Regions from separate parts of the Homo sapiens genome. Here region 2 is linked to region 1. Evidence: promoter capture Hi-C in 16 types of primary human blood cells and fetal thymus (Javierre and others, 2016). All regions are on one chromosome and are shown on one strand. Each heading gives the region's core, a stretch centred on a gene start or on the middle of the fragment in contact. The rest is flanking DNA. Distances are from core to core; before and after follow the strand shown. Region 1 holds the start of ID4 (inhibitor of DNA binding 4). Region 2 has its middle 150 kb from the start of MBOAT1.

Region 1 (5,533 bases), core at 2,978-5,477:
TAGACACCAACAAAATTTAGGGTGGGCATGGTGGCTCACACCTGTAATCCCAGCACTTTGGGAGGCCAAGGTGGGCAGATCACCTGAGGTCAGGAGTTCAAGACCAGACTGAACAACATGGTGAAACACCATATCTACTAAAAATACATAACTAGCCAGGTGTGGTGGTGGGCGCCTGTAATCCCAGCTACTTGGGAGGCTGAGGCAGGAGAATTGCTTGAACCTGGAAGGCGGAGGTTGCAGTGAGACAAGATCATGCTATTGCACTCCAGCCTGGGCAACAAGAGTGAAATTCTGTCTCAAAAAAAAAAAAAATCAAAACTTCTGCTCTAAAAGAAGATTGTGAAGTAAATGAAAAGTCAGTCCACAGACTGAGAGATATTTGCCAAAAATGGTAATACATTGTAACATGGTTTGCCCACTTATGTGCCAACCACTGTTCTAAGAACTTTACTGAATTTCTTTTACAGAGACCATATATATAATATGTGTATCTCATAAACACCTTATGAAGTAAATGCAATTTTAATCATTCCAAATATGAAAGGTATAGGAATTTAAGAACCCAGCTGAATGATATAAAACTAATAAGCAAAGAGGCCAAAATTGGGGCTTAGGCTGTCTCACTTCAGAGTCCATGCTGTTTATATCTCCTAAGGTAAAAACAAATTCCACTTATTTCTCCCCATTTTTCTGTCTTTTAATCTAAGGGGGGCTTTCAAAAAGTCACTTCTTATTTAAACCAACTACCTTTAAAACTCCCCAAACAAGGCATTTTTGACAGCCACATCTGCCCAGCCATGTTCAACGTACAACGTCCTCTTCCTACAAGCCTTTTCCAGGACCTAGCAAACTAAGGGGTTATCAGCATTTCCGGGACTAGTATCAGCAATCCAAGGGTAGCACAAGTAATTTTGTAACACTTAGTGCCTGATAAAGCAGCCTTGAGCTTGAATTGCCACATTGCCCAACTTACTCTTTGGGAGCAAGGGACAGTCCTGCTGCAGAGTACATAGTGGTTTCTTATGCCCTCAAAGAATGCATGTGCCTCTTTCTGTGACGACAAATCTACAGAGTGACCAAGGCATTGGAACATTCACGTTTATCTGTGTATGAGTACACTCACTGTTTCCCTGGAGGCTATGGAGAAACAAGTATCAAGTCCTAAAAAGGCACTGGGAATGAAGAGCACAATATGCTTCCATACCCTTGCTTCATGTAAACACAGGGTGACTATGACTTCTAAAGGCCTGGGTGTTGCAGTTCAGTGAGGGCCTGATTTAGTAGCTAGAATACATCTCAGGGAGGACAGCAGACCTCTTTGTCTGGAGGAAGGGTGTATCCATGACTCTGGTCATCACGGCTTTCTAGCAATTCTCCTATGAATGTTTCATTCTAGGTTCCTACTGAGGTATATTTTGGGAGTCTCGAGCATTTCCATGACAAAAGGATTTGGGTTAGCCCATTTTACTTTTACAAGTGCAAGTGAAACACTTTGATGTAAAAGAGTCACCAACAGACTAAGTTACCTTCTCTGCACAGTAGAAATAACATAGCTTGTAAGGTTTATCCAAAATCTGAGTGATAATTGGGTAAACTGTTTTGAATTATCAGTGCCAGGAATCTTCCATGATTGCAGCTTTGATGTCATGTAAGTGTCTATGTCTAAGAATACAAAAACATACATTGCATAGCCCCTAGTACTCTCTGGTTTCATGGACCAAAACGTGCAGGATTGTATTCCTTATTCCCATAGTATATGGTAGCACTTTAATTTTTTAATGTCTTCATGCCTTCCAACCTTCAAAACAAGGAGCACAGTAACTGCCTCTGCCTACTCTGCTAGCAGGATTTACGGATCACATCTTTCCTGGGTATTCTTGATCTTGTGGCTGAGGTACATTCCTTTGAAACCACCTCTTCCACCCCACCCCACACAGAGTAACTCAGTCTTTCTAACTTTAAGCCAGTCACACAGAGCATCTCCAACAAAACCTGAAACTTAGGCATTTGGCGCTTGTCACACCCAAGGCATGGCTTTCTGAGATTTAGCAAATTCCAAAAAGGTCGATATGATTCTTCCTTTGTGTTACGTATTCAAAACTTAAATTTTAATTTTAATCGTTAGGATATGTAAAATGTTTAAATGTAAGTGTGTCCTGGGCATATTAGCATAGTTTTATTTTGCCAAACAGAGGAAAGTCTTGGGTTTTGAATTTGGAAGCAAATTTTAAACTCTAGGAAAGAGAAAGATCAATGGAACAAAACATCTGTACATATATCCATTTATTATTATCGTCTGTGCTCATATGACTGGCTCCAAGATAATAGCTTACAACCAGTAGTGCTGGCTTCACCGACTTCCCATTTAAAATTACAACATTTTCTCTGTATTTGCATTAATTTAATGATGTATATGACTATGCCTGTCTTTAGAAGAAAGCCCTTCTGAGTTTCATAATTCTGATTTTCTCGATTAATGTGTATGTAGACCATCTACGTATGCACATAAATAAATGAGAATGGCACTTGTTTCCAAACAATTATTAGAAGCAGTAACATACAAGGATTAGGGGAGAGGAGGGTTATTGCATCTACCTGTGAAACCAGAATTAAATAGTTGCTCCTCATTTCATCAGGAGAAAGGAATGTGCTCTGGGGAATAGTGCGATAGTCATAAAGCACTGACATAGCTAAACAAAATATCTGCCTGGTGCAGGTATTTCAGTTCTGGGAATGGATGTAGAAAAAGTCCATATAGGGGTAGACAGGAAGAAATGAGGTCCATGTCTCTTTCTTTCAATTATCTATGAAAATGAAGACACCAATCCATGTCATGTACACGAATGAAGAAAATTCTTGGGTTAATTCATCTCCAAGCGTGTCTAAAGGTGGGAGGGTTTGTAGAGTGAAGGCACTCAAAATTCATTTCCCCATTGTCTGAGAATTTTTATGCACCTTTCTCATCTGAAGGGCTCAATTTTTTCTTGAAGGGTACACACAATGCTCCACCAAAGCTCATTGTGCAATTTTATTTTGAACCCTTGAAGGACAGCTTTTCTCTAAGAAATCTAACACAAAAACGCCCTTAATTAACAGGCTTTTTTTTGCAGGGTGGGGCCCAAGCGGGATCCCAGAGACTGGAAGTGTGAATTTTAATGCTTTGCTGTCAAAGGAGGCGACTCTGGACATTCTCATCACCTTATTTAAAGCGGGGTACGCTGACTAATACGTGAAGCTGTGCATTAATGGCCTAAATTAAGTTACAGGTATGAATTTTACATAAAACAGATTAATATTATATGTCATAATGGAATTTTAAATATTCCGTGTCCATGCATTTTTAATCTTTACGTGCTCTAATTGAATGCGCAAGGCAACTGCATTTCTTGAGCCCACTTTTGCATTTAGATGGGGTAAAAGAACCCCCCCCACGTTTTTGTTTTATTTATATTCCCTTCACCAAAAACCTGCATTCGATTCGGCATTCTTTTCCTTCTTTTTTTTTCTACTTTTGCTAAGCTTTAGCATTTTTTAAAAAGAAAACGGAAAGGCTACACATTCCATTCCATCATTATGGTTTCGGCAAATGTGAAAAGGCGAATAATGAAACGGAGGAGGGAAATATAGAACAGAATGAACGTGCCTTCTTGAACAGCGCGTCTTTCTTAAGGCACTGGAATCCCACGGATGGAGTGATGGGTGGCGGAGGGTCCCTGGGCGCCGTGCTATTAGGAGTGGCAGGGTATCCGCGAGCAGGGCCCAGGCGCTCCCTCAGCAGCCTAGTCGGGATAAGGGGGGCGGTGGAGAGTGAATTCCGGCCGCACATTCCCGCAGTTCTTCGCAGGAACTTCGCTCTCTCTTTTCCCCTCCCTTGGGCACACATCAGCCTGGCCCGACTCCCACTCAGCTCTCTTTTCTCAGAACCCCGACCCACAGCGTTGACGGAATGGAGTGCCCTTCCCATTGGCCCGAGCGTCATTCCCCGAGGTGGCACTGCCCGCCTGATTGGCTGGCCACTCCAGACCCCCCGCCCACTCCTCCACTCGGGTAGCCGGACTCCCCGCCCCCCAGCACCGCCCGGAGCCCCCGCCCTCGCCTCTCCCTCCGCGCCCCCGCCCGCGCGCCCAGCGGGCTCCGCTCGGCTCGCGCTGCGACCCGGCCCGCGCGCTGGTCCCGCCCCCGGGGCGCACGGCTCTATAAATACAGCTGCGCGGCGGGCCGGGCGAGAGCGTAGTGGAGGAGGCGCGGTTGTGAGTAGTACCGGGAGTGGGGTGATCCCGGGCTAGGGGAGCGCGGCGGCCGCGATCGGGCTTAGTCGGAGCTCCGAAGGGAGTGACTAGGACACCCGGGTGGGCTACTTTTCTTCCGGTGCTTTTGCTTTTTTTTTCCTTTGGGCTCGGGCTGAGTGTCGCCCACTGAGCAAAGATTCCCTCGTAAAACCCAGAGCGACCCTCCCGTCAATTGTTGGGCTCGGGAGTGTCGCGGTGCCCCGAGCGCGCCGGGCGCGGAGGCAAAGGGAGCGGAGCCGGCCGCGGACGGGGCCCGGAGCTTGCCTGCCTCCCTCGCTCGCCCCAGCGGGTTCGCTCGCGTAGAGCGCAGGGCGCGCGCGATGAAGGCGGTGAGCCCGGTGCGCCCCTCGGGCCGCAAGGCGCCGTCGGGCTGCGGCGGCGGGGAGCTGGCGCTGCGCTGCCTGGCCGAGCACGGCCACAGCCTGGGTGGCTCCGCAGCCGCGGCGGCGGCGGCGGCGGCAGCGCGCTGTAAGGCGGCCGAGGCGGCGGCCGACGAGCCGGCGCTGTGCCTGCAGTGCGATATGAACGACTGCTATAGCCGCCTGCGGAGGCTGGTGCCCACCATCCCGCCCAACAAGAAAGTCAGCAAAGTGGAGATCCTGCAGCACGTTATCGACTACATCCTGGACCTGCAGCTGGCGCTGGAGACGCACCCGGCCCTGCTGAGGCAGCCACCACCGCCCGCGCCGCCACACCACCCGGCCGGGACCTGTCCAGCCGCGCCGCCGCGGACCCCGCTCACTGCGCTCAACACCGACCCGGTGAGAGGCCGGGCGCCGGCCGTGGGCGGACGCCGCGGGGGATGGGAGGTTGGTGGCGTGGTGGCGGGACGCGGGCGCTCACCGTCCTCCGGGCAGGGGCGGGCCAGGAATGACAGCCCCCTCCCCCTGCTCCTCCGGGCTCCCCCGGGCCGCCAGCAGCCGGCCGGGCTCGGCGAGCGCGGGTCCGGGAGAACGCGCAGGGCGGGACTCGGGGCTGTGGGCGCCCTGGGCTGTCAAGTCCCGCCTGAGCCCGGAGGGGCCCCCCCGGCTACAGGCTGGGGTGGGGGCGTCGGCGCGCCAGCCTGATTTCCGAGGACAATCCAGGACCGTGTCGAGCGCGTTGTTTGCGCCTGCTAACCTTTCCCTTGGTGTTCGGTTGCTGTTCCAGGCCGGCGCGGTGAACAAGCAGGGCGACAGCATTCTGTGCCGCTGAGCCGCGCTGTCCAGGTGAGCGCGCATTTCCCGTCTCGGGTGGCCGGT
Region 2 (5,533 bases), core at 1,295-3,794, 220 kb after region 1:
AGAGAAGCAGCCACATGATGGCTACAGAAACAAGGAATGAAAGCTTTCATGTCTGGCGTGTGGAGCACATGGGGCCATCTGAGTGCTTTCTCCAACCTTGGAGAAGGCACTTTCTAGTCTCTGCACAAGGGAGATTATGAATTATGGATTATGGATTGCAATGGGGATACTTGAGTCAGAGGTAAGAAGGTGAAGTGCATGTCCTACTGGAAACTGTGTGTGTGTGTGTGTGTGTGTGTGTGTGTGAGAGAGAGAGAGAGAGAGAGAGAGAACACGAGTAAGAACAGCAAGACTGGCTAGTAAGAAATCTACTAGGAATGCATTTCTAGCATGAAAGGCATGATCCTAAGATTATACATAAACACAAAGAATCAGCAGCCCAATTACATTTCACCTGTAGTCCCAGCTACTCAGAAGGCTGAGGTGGAAGGATCACTTGAGCCCAGGGAGGTCAAAGCAGCCGTGAGCTGTGGTCATACCGCTGCACTCCAGCCTAAGCGACAGAGCAAGACCCTGTCTCAAAAACACAAACAAACAAACAAACAAAATGTTATTTTATTCTTTTTTGTAATTTGGAGCAATTTTGATAACTAAATAATATTTAATTAACTCAAATTTTCTTTTCTAACAGTTGACTCCAACTTTCTTTTTGAACCAGGAAAGAAATACGTTACACATGGATATGCTAGTCAGAAACAAAAGTCATGGGTAAAGTAATGAATTTTCAAAGTTACTTTAAAACAGGCCCATTTTTGTATATGTATGTGTGTGTTTTCAACCACCATGGCTTCCCAAAATTAAAATATACTGGGAAATGGGGGACTATAGGGATGGGGTGGAGTAGAGATGAACAAACCAACATTTCCAATTCCTGAACAGGATTCCCCCAACTTGCTATTAAGACACTGGGCTGCATGCAGGATTCGGAATGTTCATATATGGACAACCTAATCCATTGTTTTATTTTCACTCCTTCAGCCCAAACAAGTGTCCTCACTCTCTTCTGTCTTGCTTCTGGATCTTAATGTTTGCATGAACAAAACATTAAGAAACGAGAGAGCAATCCAGTGTAGCAAAGCGCTATCGCTGCAAATAGTCATCTTGAGGTTTGTTGGGATTTTCAGAAAGTAAGACACGTTCACGGTTATGAGTGGGCATCCGATTTACCTGCTAGAAATGTAAGTGACTCTTCACATGGGCCCTTTTCTCCAAAAACACCACCTTTCAGAGAGATGAAGTGAAGTGGGGAGACTAAGAATCTAATATTTTCAGCTACATAAATTCATTTCAGCATAAACTCATCTCAGCTTGAAAATCTGAACAATGTAAATTTACTCTCCAGAGAGAAAGATAAAGAGAAGAAACGGCAAGATTTCTCCCTGGAATCTGTTGAGAATAAAGAGGGAGCATGGGTGTGGGGACGTGCATTTTGTGCTGTACCTTTGAAAAGAGAACAGAACACAATGTCCTAAGATAAATCGTCATTTTCTGAAGCCAGCATTTTCTCCCAAATTCTTAAGGAAATGTTGCCACCTTCTGGACAAAAGCTTAGTAAGCATTCACCACAACCCTGCTTTCCAGCTTATTTATAAACTCGTTTACATGAGTTAATAAATAATTTTGCTGTGACTTTTCTATTATTCTACCTGCACAGCACTGATAGCCTCAAAAACTCAAGTCACTATAAAAGCACTAATCATATGCCTAACAGAACAGAAAGCCCACTTTGCCAATTAAGCAGATTCTTCAAGAGAGAAATAATCACACTGACAAAGTTTACCAGATTTTAAAAAATCTCATTCATGGACTTCTTAACTCTTACAGGGTTTGAAGAATGGTGGGTAGACTCTCAACCAGGTTTTCTCTTTACAGTTTTTTTTTTAATTACAACTTCTCTCTTTTAATAATAGGTTCAAATTCATCTAACCAAATAGTCTTGAATTTGATTTTTTTTCAATGTATTTTAAGGTCATCAGTAATATTTTGAGCATTCAGAAACAAAGACATCTGTGCTCATATCCTGAGAATTTGTAAAATGCTCACATTTCTTTACCGTAATGGGTGGGCCCTTCCCATCAGTCAATTCTCATTACCAATGTTTTCAATAAAGCAAGGCAGTTAAGGTGGACACGCTTTATGTGAAGAGCTATGCATTGTGCAAAGAAGGCGCCTGCCCACTTAGTACTGAGCATCTTCCCCATGCTTACGCCTGAGGTTTGCGTCTCCAACGTGGAGGAGTCTGCAAGACGACGAAGTTCATTGCTCTGCTGGATGAGGACCGCATTACTTGATCTTCTCAGCGCTGTTTAAATGTCCAATAAACCCAATGTCCCTCTTCATTCAGGATCTCGCCGAGGGCTTAGAGGAAAGCTGCAGTACTTCTCAGAGAAGCTCTATTCATTTTTCTGAGGATGTGGCTGATGAAATTGACAGCCCTGTCTTCCTCATCCATGTTTTCGCAGGTGGGAAATTCGGTGGTGAAGCCCCAACTTGCGGCATGTCCCTAACACTGCTGATAGCCTTGTCTTCTGTTCTCCAGCCCTTCAGGTGGCTGACCAGGAGCCCTACTGCACGATCTAAGGTGTTAACTCAATTCTGTGCTAGACCGTTGCCTTGGTTTCCCCCACAGTCATTGCAGCAGCGGGCTACATGGCATCTCTGCAAATTAAAGAAGTGCACGGAAAGGAGAAAAGCCAACTGTTTTGACCAAATCGCAGACAGTGCTTTTCCTCATCCACCAGACATGAGAACCAATGGAGGCAAATGGAAAAAAACACATCCTTCTTAGAAATCTTGTTTGGGCCGGGCGCAGTGTCTCGCGCCTGCAATGCTGGCACTTTAGGAGGCCGAGGCAGGTGGATCACCTGAGGTCAGGAGTTTGGGACCAGCTTGGCCAACATGGTGAAACTCCGTCTTTACTAAAAGTACAAAAATTAGCCGGGCATGGTGGTGCGCGCCTGTAATTCCAGTTACTCGGGAGGCTGAGGCAGGAGAATTGCTTGAACCCGGGAGGCGGAGGTTGCGGGGAGCCGAGATCGCACCACTGCACTCCAGCCTGGGCGACAGAGCAAGACTCTGTCTCTAAAAAAAGAAAAAAATGAAAAGAAAAATATCTTTTCGTTTTGAATGGGGAAGCCCCTGGTGCAGAAATGTCTTTGGTACTGGTGATAATCTGGGCCTGTGAGTGCTAAATTGATTCTCTGTCCTGCAGGGGCTGAATATCAAGGAACAAATGCATTAATCATGGGAGAGCCTGTGTGCCAACGAGCATAAAGACCACTGCACCCAGCAGCGGCGATTGCGTGAACCTTTCCACAGACCACACGCTCCGAAGTAGCTCTCTGAAGTCTCATTACTGAATGTGTAGGGGAGGGATGGGGGGTTGCATCTGACTTTCACTGAAATGTGCATTTAGAAATAAGTGTATTTACATTTAGTTTTATGTTTAAAAAGGGGGGTAGGGATGGGGAATCTTTGGGCCACAGTCATTATAGATGAAACAAACACACGGACACAGATAACACACACGCGCACATGCACAAAAGCTTTCGGGGAGAAACAGAAAATAATGTTTTGCAATTACAGTCCACAGCTGCTGCAGTTCCAGTGTGCGTGTGCTACACAGGTGCGGCCATTATAACAATGAATAGCGCACATTAAACGTGCCATCCATAGGGGTAATAATACTAGGGTTGAAAAGGTATTTTCATTTGCAACCTGATGTTAGGCAGAAAATAAAATAAGGCATTTCACAGCCAGCCTGATGGCTCGGCTACCACATGGGAGGCCCAAGCCTGAGATGAATCTGAGACCCTTATGTGTGTGTCTAACAGTGGGAACCTGGCCATGGTTCCTAGAGAGACCGTCAAATTTCTTTCTGTTCTAAAAAGCCTGCTGACCATGAAGTGGGGGAAACTGAGGCTCCACACAGTTTATCCAGTTAGCAGTATCAGCCAGCATGACATCTATCCCTGCCCAGCGCCTACTAGTGTCTGGATCCTAGAAATAGTGTTGGGGGAAAAAATACAGAGAGAGGTTCCCCCATGGGTGGGGAAGTAGAATGGCTCCCACAGAGAAGGAACCCTGGAGGAGGAAGTGGTTTTGAGACAGCTCCCCTTAGGCCCTGTCTCTGCACCATGCCATCACTAAGCTCTACCCCACAACTCAGCAATGTTCTTCCCTGGGACAGCCCCAGAAGGCTTGGCTCTAAGCCCAAAATAGCCGACCTGCTTTGCTCACCTCTCTCTTTAAAAGCCCAGCAGCAGAATGGGCCCTGTATCTCATTTCATTTACTTTCCACAGCTTCTCAAATCACTAAACTCTTCACTCTTGGTGGACAAATTCATCTTCAGGCAACCAAGACATTCATGAAGATTGGCAGTTGGAAAACGCTGGAAAAGAGACAGCTTTGGGTAGTGACAAGAGAGTGAGCTTTAGAATCAGAGGACAAAAGACCCCATCTCAGCACGGCCAGCTCTGTGATCTTGAACAAATTATTTAAACTCTCTGAACCTCTGCAAAATGAGGTTAATAGTATCTGCTGCATAGGGTTGTCGTAAGGCTCTAATGACACCAAGTATGTGAAAATACTTAACGCCAAGCTTGGAACTAGCAAGCACTAAATAAATAATAGAGATTATGAGAGTAACTTCCATTTCTTTATCTCATAATAGAGATTATGAGAGTAACTTCCATTTTCCTGAGTGGGTCTGTGAATAACTTCTAACCCATTCTCAGCAATAAAATGGAAATCTCTATCAAGAAAGGAGAAAAAAATGTACTACACATATTTCTCACAACCATAGAGGCAGCTTCAGACCAAACATTTCAGGAAGGCTGTTAGAAATGTGTAACGCTCTGCAGAATAATTGTTTTCATATTGTCTACTTTTAACAGTGGTAAAAGCAAACAATAAAACAAAAAATAATGCATGTTGTAGAGTGAATTTTAAAAAGCTGAGGATCCATCAGACCCAGGTGGGTGTTGGCGTGGCTCTCATGGACTGGGCATGCTTCCCCAGAGCCCAGGTGGAGGGCCGCCCACAGCTTGGAAGTCTGGAAGCCCACTGCCCTGGCACGGAGTGGTGCAGGGGTGTGGGAGCACGCAGCCCTCGCCAGAATGAAAGCCGTCCTAGGGAAATGGGATAGGCCCCAGTTTACCAAGGAAGGTGGGAATACAGCTCTTTTTAGAGGCCTTAAAAGTGAGGAGAGGATTAAAATTAATTTAAAACTTCACAGGAAGCCTGCATAATGAAAACAAAACTTGATTGCAATGCTGGCTGGCACACTGTGGATCTGGAAAAGCTCACACAGCAGAGCTCTGGATAGGTTGGAGCTCACTGGGGAGATAACAACAAAACTATAGTGATGGTGATGATGATGATGATGATGATGTTAGTGGTGGTGGGGGTGGCAGTGATGGCGAAACAAAAGTCTTATCAGCCAATCTCTCATGGATCACAAAGCCCTGAGGCACTTTCATAATGTGTTCATTCATTTACTTATTCTCCCAGCAAAAGTTGTTGACCATGTAG

The links. Contacts are between HindIII fragments. The CHiCAGO score rates a contact against its expected background, and 5 or more counts as called.
Region 2: a fragment that was not itself captured here is called in contact with the fragment with the promoter of ID4 in region 1 in 1 of 17 cell types (megakaryocytes); the score reaches 6.8 in megakaryocytes.

The regions. Positions count from the first base shown.
Region 1 is chr6:19,833,143-19,838,675 of GRCh38, forward strand. It overlaps ID4 (inhibitor of DNA binding 4), which reads left to right and starts at 4,228. Exons shown (of 3, transcript NM_001546.4): 1 at 4,228-5,053; 2 at 5,442-5,500. The coding sequence starts at 4,613. The coding sequence ends at 5,486. The HindIII fragment of the contact is 2,827 bases long and covers 3,521-5,533 here.
Region 2 is chr6:20,055,051-20,060,583 of GRCh38, forward strand. No RefSeq gene overlaps it. Among named protein-coding and RNA genes, the nearest start is that of MBOAT1, 150 kb to the right of the region's middle. The HindIII fragment of the contact is 1,998 bases long and covers 1,546-3,543 here.